2 separate regions of the Homo sapiens genome follow, and region 2 is linked to region 1. The links are contacts of gene promoters, found by promoter capture Hi-C in human tissues and cell types (Jung and others, 2019). All regions are on one chromosome and are shown on one strand. The core of a region is centred on a gene start or on the middle of the fragment in contact, and the rest is flanking DNA. Distances in the headings are between cores, read along the strand shown. Region 1 holds the start of GOLGA7 (golgin A7). Region 2 holds the start of HGSNAT (heparan-alpha-glucosaminide N-acetyltransferase).

Evidence for each region. Contacts are between HindIII fragments. The study calls those that stand out against the background at their distance.
Region 2: the fragment with the promoter of HGSNAT here is called in contact with the fragment with the promoter of GOLGA7 in region 1 in 1 of the 25 tissues and cell types used here (aorta).

The regions. Positions count from the first base shown.
Region 1 is chr8:41,488,084-41,495,081 of GRCh38, forward strand. GOLGA7 (golgin A7) reads left to right here and starts at 2,499. Exons shown (of 5, transcript NM_001002296.2): 1 at 2,499-2,882. The coding sequence starts at 2,772. RefSeq lists a silencer at 2,130-2,389 and enhancers at 2,440-2,569, 2,860-2,969, 3,020-3,129. The HindIII fragment of the contact is 13,455 bases long and covers 1-6,998 here.
Region 2 is chr8:43,136,011-43,143,008 of GRCh38, forward strand. It overlaps HGSNAT (heparan-alpha-glucosaminide N-acetyltransferase), which reads left to right and starts at 4,454. Exons shown (of 18, transcript NM_152419.3): 1 at 4,454-4,604. The coding sequence starts at 4,487. RefSeq lists an enhancer at 3,116-3,410 and silencers at 4,254-5,043, 5,054-5,433. The HindIII fragment of the contact is 19,681 bases long and covers 1-6,998 here.

The DNA.
Region 1 (6,998 bases), core at 1,249-3,748:
CTTTTTCTTTTTTTTTTTTTTTTTTTTTTTGAGACAGAGTCTCGCTCTTTAGCCCAGGCCGGAGTGCAGTGGCACTATCTCCGCTCACTGCAAGCTCCGCCTCCCGAGTTCACCCCATTCTCCTGCCTCAGCCTCTCGAGTAGCTGGGACTTATAGGCGCCCGCCACGGCGCCCGGCTCATTTTTTGTATTTTTAGTAGACACGGGGTTTCACCGTGTTAGCCAGAATGATCTCGATCTCCTGACCTCGTGATCCGCCCGCCTCGGCCTCTCAAAGTGCTGGGATTACAGGCGTGAGCCACCGCGCCCGGCCCCCACTGATTTTCAACAGAGATACAAAGGCAATTCAGTGAAGAAATGAGAGTCTTTTCAACAAATGGTACGTAAACAACTGAATAACAACTGCATAATCATACGGGGGGAGGGAAGAGTTTCACTCTATACCTATGGGAGGCAGAAATGCCCTCCCCAAGAGGTCCACACCCTAATCCCCTCAAACCCCTAACGTGTTAAGAGAGTAAAAAGACAAATCACAGACTGTGAAAAATGCATGCAAATCACATATCTGATAAAGGATTTTTCTCCAGAATGTATAAAGAACTCAAAACTCAAAAACAGCCCGGCCAAGTTCTCACGCAAGTATAAAGGCCTCAGGAAAACATCTTTAAACATACAAAAATCCAAGAATTAAAGTGCCTTAAAAATTTAAAACTGACCTTAAGCCCAGCCAATAAAGATGTAAATCAAAACAAAATAAAACAAAAAACCCCTCAACAACAGGAAAATAAAATACAAACAAAAAAATGGGCAAAAGTTTTAAATAGACACTTCACCAGAGAAGATACATGGATGGCAAATAAGTACAGGAAAATATGTTCAAAATAATTAGTCATGGAAAAATGAAAATTATAGCTGCAGAAGATATTACTACCCAAGTCTTGGCAAAGATGTGGAGCAACTGGAACTCTGGTGGGAATGCAAAATGGTGTCACCACTTTGGAAAACAGTTTGTCAGTCTGCCAAAAAGTTAAACGTGTTTTTACCGTACAATCTAGCCATTCTACTCCTAGGTATGTACCCAAGAGAAATGAAAGCATTAAGGTCTACACACCTATGCAAAGACTTGCAAATGAATGTCCATAGCAGCTTTATTTGTAACATCCCAAAACTGGAAGCAATCCAAATGTCCATCAACAGATGAATGGATAAACAAACTGTGGGATGGCCATACAATGGAATAGCTATCCAGCATCAAAAATAAATGAATTATTGATAACACAACAACAGATGGACTTCAAAATAGTCTATGTGAAAGAAGCCAGGCAAAAAAAGGGGGTACACACTATATGATTCAATTTATATAAAATTCAAGGAAATGAAACTAATGTTGAGTGACAGAAGGTGGATCAGTGCCTGGGAAATGGGGTCTGGGAGAGGCAGGAGGGAGAGATTACACAGGAGCTGGAGGAACCTTTTCAGGGCAATGGAGCTTTACTATCTTGATTGTGACAGTGGTTTATGGGTGTATTCATATGTCCAAAGTTATCAAATCCACTGCTTTAAATGTGTGGTTTATTGTATGCCATTTATATCTCGAAAAAGCTGTTTTTAAAATACAGTAAGAGAATTTTTCATATTTAAAAGGCAGGATATTTAAACTATATTAAATATATAAAAGACAGTGGTACTAACAGGTTGTATTAGCAGGAGACAAGGGTAAGGTGGGGTTTCTTTGGCTGCCTTGCAAAGAAATGCTGAGTCAAGTAAGGGCCAGTGGGCAACGAGGGCGGAACCACTTGTCCCCTTGGTCACCTGAGGGATGTGGATGGGAGCTGGGTGGAAATGGGGGGTGAGAGGAACGCCGCCCCCAAAGAAGAGTCGGGGCAGGGGCGCCCAACGCTGGGGCCCAGGCAGGTTCTTCGTCCTCACTTCCTGACCCTTTCTCAAGAGTCTAGGGACCAAATGGATCCATCCTTGGAGCCTGCTTTCTACTTCTGAACACAATGAGCAGTTTGTGTTTGAGGGTTTGGGGAGGGGGTGTTGTTTTTTCTTTATGTTTTGTTTTTTGTTTTGTGTATGAGTTGGGTGGCATAACCCACACGTAAGCTGCGACGTCCAATCAAGAACGAAAATGACCCCTCACAATCAGTGATCGGGAACCACCTGCCACAATCACTAGGGAAGTGACACAGCCGGGAAACTCCGCCCCTCACACCCCCGCGCGCTCGCGCCGGCCGCAGCCCCACAGCTCGCCCCGGCCGCAGCCCCACAGCTCGCCCCGCCTCTCTCCTTCCGGAAACAATCCCCGCGCGGGCGGAAGGCGGGGTCGGCCCTGGCCCCGCCCACATCATTTCCCTTCCTCGGCCCAGCCCCACAGCGCGCAGCTTCGGCAGGGTGGCTTTACGGCCGGAGGAGAGGGTGGGTCCCAGACCTGAGGTAGGAGGCCGAGCTGAGGGGCGGGGAAGAGGCTTTTTGCGGCAGGACGTAAGTGACGGCGAAGGCGGTGCGACAGCAGCTGGAGGGCAGAGGAGGCGGGTTTGTGTTTCCCGGGCCGAACCGGGTTGTGGGGGGCGCGGGGCCTGGGCCAGGCGGCAGCTAAGGCCCGCGGTGACAGCATGGGTGAAGGGGAGCGGGGCAGAGGAGGCCTTGGGCTGTTTTCGGCGGCGGGTGGGGGCGAGGGGCTGGCGGGTCAGAGTCCCGGGTCCAGGCCGGGGCTCTGACTCGCGGTTGGTGTTCCCCCGACCCCGCAGCGCGGGGTGTCCTGTCCTCGCCATGAGGCCGCAGCAGGCGCCGGTGTCCGGAAAGGTGTTCATTCAGCGAGACTACAGCAGTGGCACACGCTGCCAGTTCCAGACCAAGTTCCCTGCGGAGCTGGAGAACCGGGTACGCAACCTGGCTCCCCACGCCTGCTCTGGCGAGGGAGAGAGACTCACCGGGGACGGGAAGGGTGTGGGCGACAACCGGGCCTTTGAGGGTCCCGCAGTTCTGGGGAGGTCCAGGCACAGAAGGGGCCTTGGCCAAACGTGTAAGAAGAGAGCCACTAAGCAAGACAGGTGTTTGGAGCAGGAAGAATAATATAGGCCGATCGCCGGGGTTGACGACCTTATGGAACTTTGTTGCCCGGTGCCGGGAATCTGGATCCAGCAGTGTTCCCCTGCTGCACTCCCCCAAATCCCCACCCCGGGTTATTGTCGGCAGCGATGAGGAGCCAATTCCTGAGGCTCCAGGTCGTCTCAGTCACCAGGTTGTAAACTATATCCTCCTACCTCTCCGCGCAAGATAAATCATCATCATTCTCGTGACTGGTGTTTGCTGCCTCTGTGCTGGCCGCACTGTTTGGCTGAAAGGGTTTATTAGGTGCATGGCCAGGCGGTGCGTTCAGGCTTTCTTGGAACCTTAAAGACGTCGGGCGTTAGATAGGCCTGGACAGGAAAATGTCTCAGAACAAGGCCTTAAACTTGTCACATTCACTGGGAGCCACCTGTTTTGTCTTGCATATCAAAATGGTCATCAGGATATAGGTCCTTTGGGCAACATTGCAGGCAAAAATGGAAGAATGGGATTTGCTTCCCCTTCAGACCTAGCAAAACTTTAAAAAAAAAAAAAAAATCATTGTATCTTGTTGTAGAGGTAATGGAGTGTGTGCGTGCCTGCCTGTGTTTTTGTGTGCCCACATATGTACATTCAACCAAAGATTCTTTTGGTCTTGACCCATGTTATGTAGATTGTGTTTCCCGTTCAGGGATCAATTTCTGGTTAGCTGGAAGCAGGTTTTGTGGCTCTCTCCTCTGTGACAGGGAGGACGAGGGCCTGAGAGGTGATTAGGCATTCCTTGGGTGTGGGACTGAGAGATGCTGGTCATGGGATAAGTGGGTGTGGATGAGTCTGTGTAGAGAAATGTGTAGCAGTTATTTACAGTCAGTTTGCAGTGAGGTGGGTTGCACTGCCCGATTTCCATGGTTGGGAAATCAACAATGATCCATTATAGTTTCCTTCAGTTTGACATAACCATGGGCAGCTTCATGGCCCAAATATGTTTCTTGAATTGCAAATGGATCAAATATGCCTTTAAAAGATGGTGAGGTGACTTGTTTCTGAAATGCCATTTAAATGCTGCAGTATGTTGTCAACTATGTTATGAGTTAACTGAGCGTGACAATAGGTGGAACTATCTACAGTGGTTTGAAGAGGTAGAAATTCAGCAAGTGGCCAGTTGGGTAGAGCTACTGAATGTTGTTTTAAAATAATTTAACATCACAATTGATGTGTTTTACATGTTAAGATTGACATGGAATCTGGCTGGGCCCGGTGGCTCACGCCTGTAATCCCAGCACTCTGGGAGGCCGTGGCGGGTGCATCACTTGAGGTCGGGAATTCAAGACCAGCTTGGCCAACATGGTGAAACCCCATCTCTACTAAAAATACAAAAATTAGTCAGGCATGGTGGCGGGCACCTGTAATCCCCGCTACTCAGGAGGCTGAAGTAGAAGAATTTCTTGAACCTGGGAGGCGGAGGTTGCAGTGAGCCGAGATCATGCCATTGTACTCCAGCCTGGGCGACAGAGCAAGACTCTTGTCTCAAAAAATAAATCAAATAAAAAGATATACATGGAATCAATCAAATGTTTTATTTTTAAGCCTCTTACGGAAACTATGACATACAATTTATGTACTTCAAAATCAGAATATAAAGTATTCTTTTTTTACCACAATTATTTGGACATTAAAGATTCCTTTGCTTTAAGGTTTTAAAGCAACACTTACACCTCATATATTTGAGCTAAATGTGTATACACAGAATCAGACATTAGCCTTCCACTCTGTGTGTGGCAGAGCCTTTATTTTGTAATCTAAGTGCAAAAGCACAATGTAGTTACTGTGCTCCACTGATTCTTGTCAGGAAATTGATGTTTCTAAATTCTGGAGTCCTTTTACCTCTTTGACTCTGTATAGCCCAGAACTGCTTGTGGTACTGAGTACTATATGGAATGTTACATGGCACTCTTCAATTGTGCCTTTGAATTTCTTTTTTCTTTTTAAATGTTTGGGTTAAAACACTAGCTTATGCTTTAAACCACTAGAAAAGCTTTGATTGTCTGTGTATGTGTGTTGAGATTAAATTTAAATTACAGGTTTAAACTTTCCTTGCTTTGATGAAAAATTGAAAGGTTTCTGTTTCTCTACTACTTACCCTAGAAATTTTACTGATTGCTCTGCTATTGGAGCTGATTTTCCTTTTGTGAGAACATCACACTTGGCAACATAATAGAGAAAGTGACTAATATGCAAGTGTTTTGTATTATTTTAAAGCATTTTTTAAAAATACACACACATTTGTGCCCTTTAATTTGGGAGTAGGATAGGTTCTGTCTGTTAACAAGTTCATTTTCTCTGCTGCCTTTTAGAATGTAATACTTTGATGCTTAAGCGATTTGTTGCCAGAACAATTCCTTAAAGGAAACTTTATTCTCATTAGCCTTAAAATACAGATATCTTAGTTACCCTTGGTCTGGGTAGAAGAATGAGTGAACTGTAATTGAGGCATTTTTTCCCTTTAAAAATATGTCTCCCCATCTGGTTAGTAATTACCTTTGACCTGCCACCCTTGATACGTGATCACTGCATGCTTCACCATGCTTTCTACTGTGTAGTTCACAGTAATTCTGGGAAAATAAGCCTGATTTCTCTTTCCATTCTGATTTTTGATGTTTGTGGGTCCAAATTTTATTTGGCTGTGACTTCTCATATATCTAAATTTTGATAGAGCTCCTGTATCAGTGTCCAGGAACCTAAGGGAGAACACTGGCCACTGTTATTCATAGCCTAAAGGTAGTAAGATACAAATGCCAACATTTGTTCTCTTGAGCCCTTTCTTGTGAAGTTTGTCGTTTGCCTTTATTGATGCCTTCTGTGATTTTTACCCTTTATTTCCCTTTTTTAAAATAACCTTTCAAAAACTTGTTGGCATTTACTTTTCTTTAACCATTTATCCTTTCTTTTTCTTTTTTTATTAACCTTTTTTTGTTTGTTTGTTTAACTGACGTATGATTTACCTCTAACCTATAGGGCATTGTAATCTCGGAATAACGCATAAGAATTAAGTGTTTCTGGCTGGGCATGGTGGTTTGCACCCAAGTAATCCCAGCTGCTCTGGGGGTTGAGGTAGGAGTATCCCTTGGGGCCAGGAGTTCAAGACCAGTCTGGGCAACATAGCGATACTCTGTCACTAAACTTAAAAAATAATAATAATTAGGGTTTCCGGGATAAACAGTAATTCTGATATGAAAGAAATAAGATGTTTCTGGGTTGAATCCCATGGTTTTGAATTGTATTGTAAAGAAATATAAATAATTCAATGACTTATAACATAGGCACATCAAATGTGATTGGAATTATTTAGACTTTTGTAGACTTATCGGTGGACAAACTGAAGGCATTAACGTAGGCATAATTAGGTGAACGTAACAGCTTACCATTTTTGTTTGCTGAGCTCTCCTCAGTCTGTTTTCGTGAATGAGAACTCACAGTTTCCCAGATGACCAGCCTTGACACCACATCTACAAGGGGTAGCTCAGTGAAGAAACACTGCCCCTGCGTTTAAAGGCCGTCTTGACCCACCTAGCCTTTGTCCAAATCTCTAATATTCCTGGAAATTTAAAGTAACTCCTTTTGAAAAATGGGTAGAGCCAACACCACTTTAAAGTTTGCATTAAATTCATGCATGCCACTAGCCCATTGACTCCTCACATTTTCCACACAACGGACAAAACAATGACTACAACTGCTTCTAACTTAAAGAGTTGTCATAGCTTAAGGATGGTCATGAATTGTTTTACACTTTAAAAGATTATGTTCTTGAGGCCAGGTGCAGGTGGCTCTTTGGGAGGCCAGGGGGGTGGATCACATGAGGCTAGGAGCCTGAGACCAGCCTGGCAACATGGCAAAACCTCGTCTCTACTAAAAATACAAAAATTAGTAGGGAATGGTGGTGCACGCCTG
Region 2 (6,998 bases), core at 3,204-5,703, 1.6 Mb after region 1:
TGGGATTGCCAAAATGATGTTCAGTTTTCTTTAGGTTATATTTTTGTGAATAATGCTAATGTATGTTCCAAAATTATATGGGATTTCTAAAACTCTAATGTCTAAGTATATGCTATCAACCATAATTAAGGTTGTTAAGTTATTGTAAACCACAGAGATAGCCAAACTTCTTTGTCAATTGTGTTTCTAACTGCAACTAACCTGGACATTTGGCTAGTCACAGACAATTGTTGTCTTGTTTTAATCATTTTCAAAAGATGGTTTATAATAAGCAATAGGACTCTGGCAGGTACTCTCAAATACAGGTTTCTGATAACTTTGGAGATTGTCACATTGGAATAAAGGCAAATGTACAGGATTCATAAAGAGCTGAAGTGTTCACGAATATCAAGCAAAACAAGAACTAAATGGACTGAACTCAAAGCTGAAGCAAACTTTTTGACTTTTGCTGGGAATATTGTTGATCCTTGTTTTGTTTTTCAGAGTCAGGGAAACTTATTTTAAACTATTTATGGTCTTTAATAATTGACTGAGGTATACTCCTGTGGACAAGATTTGGAGCATGCTTGTTTCTCTTTGCCTGGTTCCTTTTTTTTTGTGGACAGACTGTTACTCTTTCGCCCAGGCTGGACTACAGTGGAGGGATCTTGGCCCACTGCAACCTCCGCTTCCCTGGCTCAAGCGATTCTCCTGCCACAGCCTCCTGAGTAGCTGGGACTACAGGCGCGGGCCACCATGCCCAGGTAGTTTTTGTATTTTTAGTAGAGATGGGGTTTCACTATGTTGTCCAGCCTGGTCTCGAACTCCTGACCTCAAGTGATCTGCCTGCCTTGGCCTTCCAAAGTATTGGGATTAGCTGTGAGCCACTGCGCCCGGCCTGGTTCCTCTAGAATCTGGAAACTATCTGTGAGTATTTTTAACTTGTGGCAATATAGTTGTCTGGATCGGTGTGATAGGAATCCATTTATCTTTTGTTAACAAGACGCAATTGGAAAAACTGGTTATTTTCCCGAGGCTTTCACTGGAAGGCTATGCTTCTGTTTAAAGAATCAATCTCGACTTGCAGGGCCAATAAAAGCCCAGTGGGGAAGTTGGCCTCATACTCTTGTCTACACAGTCCCTGTACAGGGTTCCTGACCTGTGGTCAGTAAAGAATGTCACTTGCTAACAGGTCCAGGAGCTCCAAGTTTATCCTGGGACCTTAAGAGGAGAGGATCACCCAACCCAAGGTGTATCATGGGAACTTAAGAGGAGAGGATTAGCCCAGTTCATGGCTGGGCTTGGCTTTATCTTATCTGAGATTCCTTGTGGAACAGAGTTCCATCAAAGCCAGTCCAAAAGGCCTTTGTAGAAATAATTATTCTTGCTGCACTTTATGTAAATAATCAGGCCAAGTATAAGACTGAAGTCTATTTTGCAAACAACTGAGTCCTATCATAATTTCTTTTCTTTTCTTTCTTTTCTTTTTTTTTTTTTTAACAAAAACGAGGCCTGGAGAAAAATTATGTTCCAAAACTTACCATAATTTGTCATTCAATTCTAAACTCAGTTGTTTTTAAATTTTTGCCTGCATTTTTAGACTGACCCTGCTTGTGAACCAACCAGCAATCTCCAGCTGCAGCTCAGAAAGAACAAGAGGGATGGGTAATGTAAAAAAATCTGGATTAGTATTCTAGTTATGAGCAATTATCCTGCAAATTCTGCTAGGCAATGGGAATAAATAGGGTGCCCATCATCCAGAGGTTTCCTTTTGGGAAAGTAAGACCAAGGGAGCTAACCAAAGCCAAGCACCATGCACCCAAATCCTACCAAACATAACTGTAGCCACCAGTTATCTGGGTGTGTCACAAGACATCCTTTTCTCTCCCTTGTTGGAGGACTCAGTTCCACAGTTTTTCCTTAGCATTTGGCTTACGAGAAGGAGTCCATGCAACCCCTCAACCCCTGAGCATAAGTGAGGTCTAGGGAACTCCAAGACTACTGACAGCAGGGGTGATAGGGCATTCATGGGTAGAGGAGATAATTCCCACCCTCTAGACCCCTGCTTCATGGATGCAAGCCATTTTGGCACCCATGGTAGCACTTTCGAAGGTTGCATGGGGATGCAAGGATGGAAGAGGACGCTATTCCTTCTATCCCTCACGTACCCCAGGTATTTGCTAGGAAAAGAACCAGGGATGCCTGCTCCCCTCTTTCTATGTGGGTAGCCATTTATCTTCAGTCTGCACCACTTTCAAATGCATCTGGAACCCTTCGGATTCCTTTGAAAAAATGCCTTCTTTTTTCCTTTCTCCTCCTCGGTTCACAATGACAATCCTAATTGTGTCTCCATACTATGGGACACTCCCCTCAGATGCATTTTCCAAACTGGAAAGAGTTAATTTCCTAAACCTTAAACTGGCTGGCTTAGGATTGGTTTCAGGGGAAGGGAACCCAGAAGCCCAACATGCCAGCAAAAGGGTAAAGTTGTTTACCATTCGGACTTTTGGCCCCCTTCTCCGTGTACAAATTGGTAAAAAGCCTCAGGATTTTTGAGCTGTCCTTATCCCTCCCCTTGTTTCTTTTCTTTTCTTTTTTTTTTTGAGACAGGGTCTCACTCTGTCGCCCAGGCTGGAGTGCAGTGATGTGGTCTTGGCTCACTGCAACCTCCGTTCAAACGATTCTCCTGCCTCAACCTCCTAAGTAGCTGGGAGTACAGGCAGGCACCACCACTGCTGGCTAATTTTTGTATTTTTAGTAGAGACAGGGTTTCACCATGTTGGCCAGGCTGGTCTTGAACTCCTGACCTGCCAGGCTGGAGTGCAGTGGCATAATCTTGGCTCACTGCAAACTCTGCCTCCCGGATTCAAGTGATTCTCCTGCCTCAGCCTCCCAAGTAGCTGGGACTACAGGTACTTGCCATGACGCCCGGCTAATTTTTTGTATTTTTAGTAGTGACAGGGTTTCACCATGTTGGCCAGGATGGTCTCGATTTCTTGACCTCGTGATCCACCTGCCTTGGCCTCCCAAAGTGCTGGGATTACAGGCGTGAGCCACTGTGCCCGGCCATATGTGTTTAATAACCCAGTTTGTCTCTTCTTGCCTTCAGGACATCAAACGGTCATGCTACTGGAAGCTCGGACCATGGCCCCTTCTGCTGGGCACCCTTAGATAGGCCTCTGAGGGAGATCTGATTGCCATTTTCCCGAAACAGTGCCCCCTATCAGCAGGAAGCAGTTAAGATCTGTCTTTGTCCCTATTCTTATCCTAGTGGCAGTTAGATAGACTTCTTTAGAGCGAGGAATGAGCCAGATGGGAAGGGTTCCCTGGTAAAACTCCAACTGGCCTGTGCACTGCTCTGGGGTGGAGCCACAGAAGTTCGCTCCTCAGTTTGCAGCTGGGAGGAGCCTGGCCCTCCTCTTCCTCGGGAGAACCTGGGATTTAATCTGTGAGGTGGGAAGCCTACAACTAGGAGAACTCTGGCTCTGCTGAGTCCCTGTTCCCCTTTTTCTTCCTTTACACCCAATAAAACCCTGCCTTACCCTTCAAATTGTCTGCGAGCCTAATCTTTCCTGGCGTGTGACAAGGACCTCCACCGTCTTTAGCTGAACTAAGGAAAAGTCCCGCAACATTTTCATGTGTGCCTTTGTATTTTTATTACATATATGGATGTCCCTAAACAACATACATTATTGTTTTGCTTTATATATTAAAAAGGCATTCTGCAATTTGCATTTTCCCCAGCCTTGTGTTTTGAGATTTATCCATGTGGATGCGGGAAGCTGTAGAGCACTTCCCCTGCTGTGGGGCAGTTTGTTTTCTCGCTGGCGGACATTCAGCTTGTTGACAAGGTTTTGCAATTACAAGCACCTCTGCTATAGGTATTACTGTACCTGTCCCTTATACCTGCGATAGTGTCTCCCGGCATACAGCCAAGAATGGGTGTGCACACTCCTCGACCTGCTCCCTTCCACTTCGTCAGCCTGGCCGGGGGCTCTTTCAAGAGGTGGGGCCGCTTGGTGGCTTCTAAGTCGTGCCTCTCCCTCTGGGTAATAAACGCCTTGGGGGCAGGGACTTTGCAGTCTTGCTTATTGAGGCGTTTTCCAAAACAGGGACCGAGGGCTCTAACACCCGTGCGGAGGGTGGCCGGCGGGGGCGGGAGTTTGGCAGAATGCGGCTGGAGAAGGTGGGGCGAGGGAAGAAGGCTCCTGGCCTGCAGGGGCCTCTCTTCCGGCTGTTTTTCCTCCCGAAGACAAACACTCCCAACGCAGGGGCGCAGAGCCTCGGCTTCTTTCCTGGCCAGCTCCCTCAAGGCAGGGCCTAGCATGGCCCGGCCCAGCCCCTAGGTTCCCCCGCCCGCGGCTCCCGGGCGCCTCCGCCTCCCGCGGTGACTCAGGCGGCGGTGACGGCAGCGGAGGGGGCGATGACGGGCGCGCGGGCGTCCGCGGCGGAGCAGCGCAGGGCGGGGCGCAGCGGGCAGGCAAGGGCGGCCGAGCGGGCGGCGGGCATGAGCGGGGCGGGCAGGGCGCTGGCCGCGCTGCTGCTGGCCGCGTCCGTGCTGAGCGCCGCGCTGCTGGCCCCCGGCGGCTCTTCGGGGCGCGATGCCCAGGCCGCGCCGCCACGAGGTGAGTGCACACCTCCTACCGCCGCCCGGCCGGCTACGAGCGCAGCGTCTCCTCTCCGCGGCGCCGCCCCTATCTCCGTGCGCGGCGCCGAGCGCTAGGCCGGGCCGGAACCGCCCCCGTGGCCTGGGCTGTTGCTGCGACTTCGCGGTCCCGCGCCCCAGACCGGAGGCCGGACTTCGGGGTGCTGCGGCCGGGCCCCGCGGAGGCGGGGGAGGGGGCGGTTCGGACCGCGGCGGAGTGGAACCTGGGCGCCCAGGCGGCGCCCACCCCAGCGGAGCCTGCGTCCTGGCGCCTTCCGTCTAAACAGAGGCCGCGGATCGGGACGCCGGGACCCCACAAACTGGCAGCCAGGAGGCGGGCCAGCCGAGGATCGGGGGGGCTCGGACTCCCCCTGCACCCAGTCCACTGTTCGGAGGGACTTAGAGCAGGGTCCCTTCCCTGAGGGCCTCGCCCCCGAGGACGTGGCGCCGGAGCCGTGCGACCCATTGGCTTCAGCGGGTGGGAAGCCTGGGGCCGGGACGCGCGTTCGCCCCGCGCTGGGGTTGAACCTGCGTGGATGTGCGGCGGGTGAGGAACCGCGGAGAAGGCGGTGGGGGCGCGGCCTGCAGCCCGGTCCCGGGCGAGCCCTCCGCGCGTCTCCCCTCGGCGCGTTTTCCCTCCAGGGTGACTGGGAAGCCGCCGCCGCCGCCGCCGCCGCCTGGGAGGGGCCGGGCTGGGCGCTTTTGCCCCGGGCCCCGGACCCCGGGCGTTTGTCCGGTGCGCTGGCTTAAGAGGCGCTCAGCTCATACCGTGATTGCACAACTGGCTTGCTCTCCGAACTCGGTGGGGAAAACGGTGACAAATACAGATTCCAGGTCTCCATCTAGACCCCTGCACCGGGGAGCCCCAGGCCCTAGGTCCTTCGCACACGCCCCTCCCAGAGGGGTCGGGCAAGCATCGCAAACCCCTTTGGGTAGGAGGGACGGTGGGAGTCACCTGTCTTTCCCCTCTCGCGCCCTTTTCTTGGTCAGAATACGAAGTTTTAGTGTCTGTGTATGGAGTTCAAACGACCCCTCCTCTCCAAGCAGAAGCTGGAGGAGAAAGGCGTTGTGAATTTTGGAAAAGCGGCTCAGAGGATTACATTTTGTGCGATCCTTGATCCACCCAACCTTCATCTCCTGCGCTCCCCTCCTTTAAAATTGCAAGGACCCCGGGGAGGTTATGTAATCTGCCTGATCACAATTTGTCAGGGACTGATCCCGCCGAACACTCTTTGCATTTTAGCGCCAGTATTAGCTTATCAAAGGGCACTTACTTTTAGAGAGAGGTGGTTTGTAAATAGTAATCACACGTAGTGAGGGGAAGCCGCGTTGGGACCGCAAGGCTTTCCCTGTCACCTGGAGCCCATGTTTGGGCCGCACAGCTTTCCTACTAAAAACGTCATCATCTTCCTTCTTTTTGAAAATTCAGCATTTGCTTGAAGAAAAAAAAAAGTAGACTATGTCTTTAAAAATATGCCCAGCAAAGATAACTCACGAGCAGAGAGCTAGACCAGAAATTAAATATTTGGAAAGGAAATAAAGGTGTAATACACAAGCAGCACATTTATCCCCGCACCATTGGAAGGTGACTTTATTTGGTAATTTGCCCACCAAGACGAGGTAGACCAGAGGAGAGAGAAGGAAATAATTGTTCTTTTGTCTGTAACGCTCTGGGGGTATTGCCCTGGAATTTCTTAGGTCAGCTGCTGTGTGGGAAGGTGACAGCTTTTTCTTGAAGCTGAACATCAAGCTCAGTTTCGAGGTCATATTTGATGACTTATTTGATGGCTTAGTAATTGGGTCCTTTGGTCGTGTCTGTAAGTGATACAGACTGTTATTATTATTTTTAAAAACCACATTCAAATAATGCAAAGTGAAAAAAAAAGGTGTCAAAATCCGCTGGCGTTACTCTGACAGTCTCTAGCTGTGGTTCCCTAGCTGTGGTCTTCACCCTCGGCTGCACACTCGAATCCCTTTGGGAGGTTCGTTGTTTTTTGTGGGAAATTAAAAAAATCATGCTGATTGGGCAGAGATTCTGATTTAATTGGTCTGGAATGGGGCCAGGGCATTGGTAACTTTTGTAGTTTTTTTAGAGCTTCCTCAGGTAATTTTGACATTCAATGAAGACTGAGCCCCTCTGCACATTCCCAAATAGCATAGTTAGTAACAATGACAATGAAGAGCTTTCAGCCTAAAATTCGTGTGGATAATCTAAGTATAAAACAAGTACCTTATTCCGCCCACCACCAAAGGCTTAGAGAAACATGAGTACACACAGTACTTATTCCATCTACGAAGGGATGATGATGTGTGGAGAAATTACGAAGGAAAAGCTCATGGCTTCATGGTCTCTTGGGTATGATCAAGTGTAGGA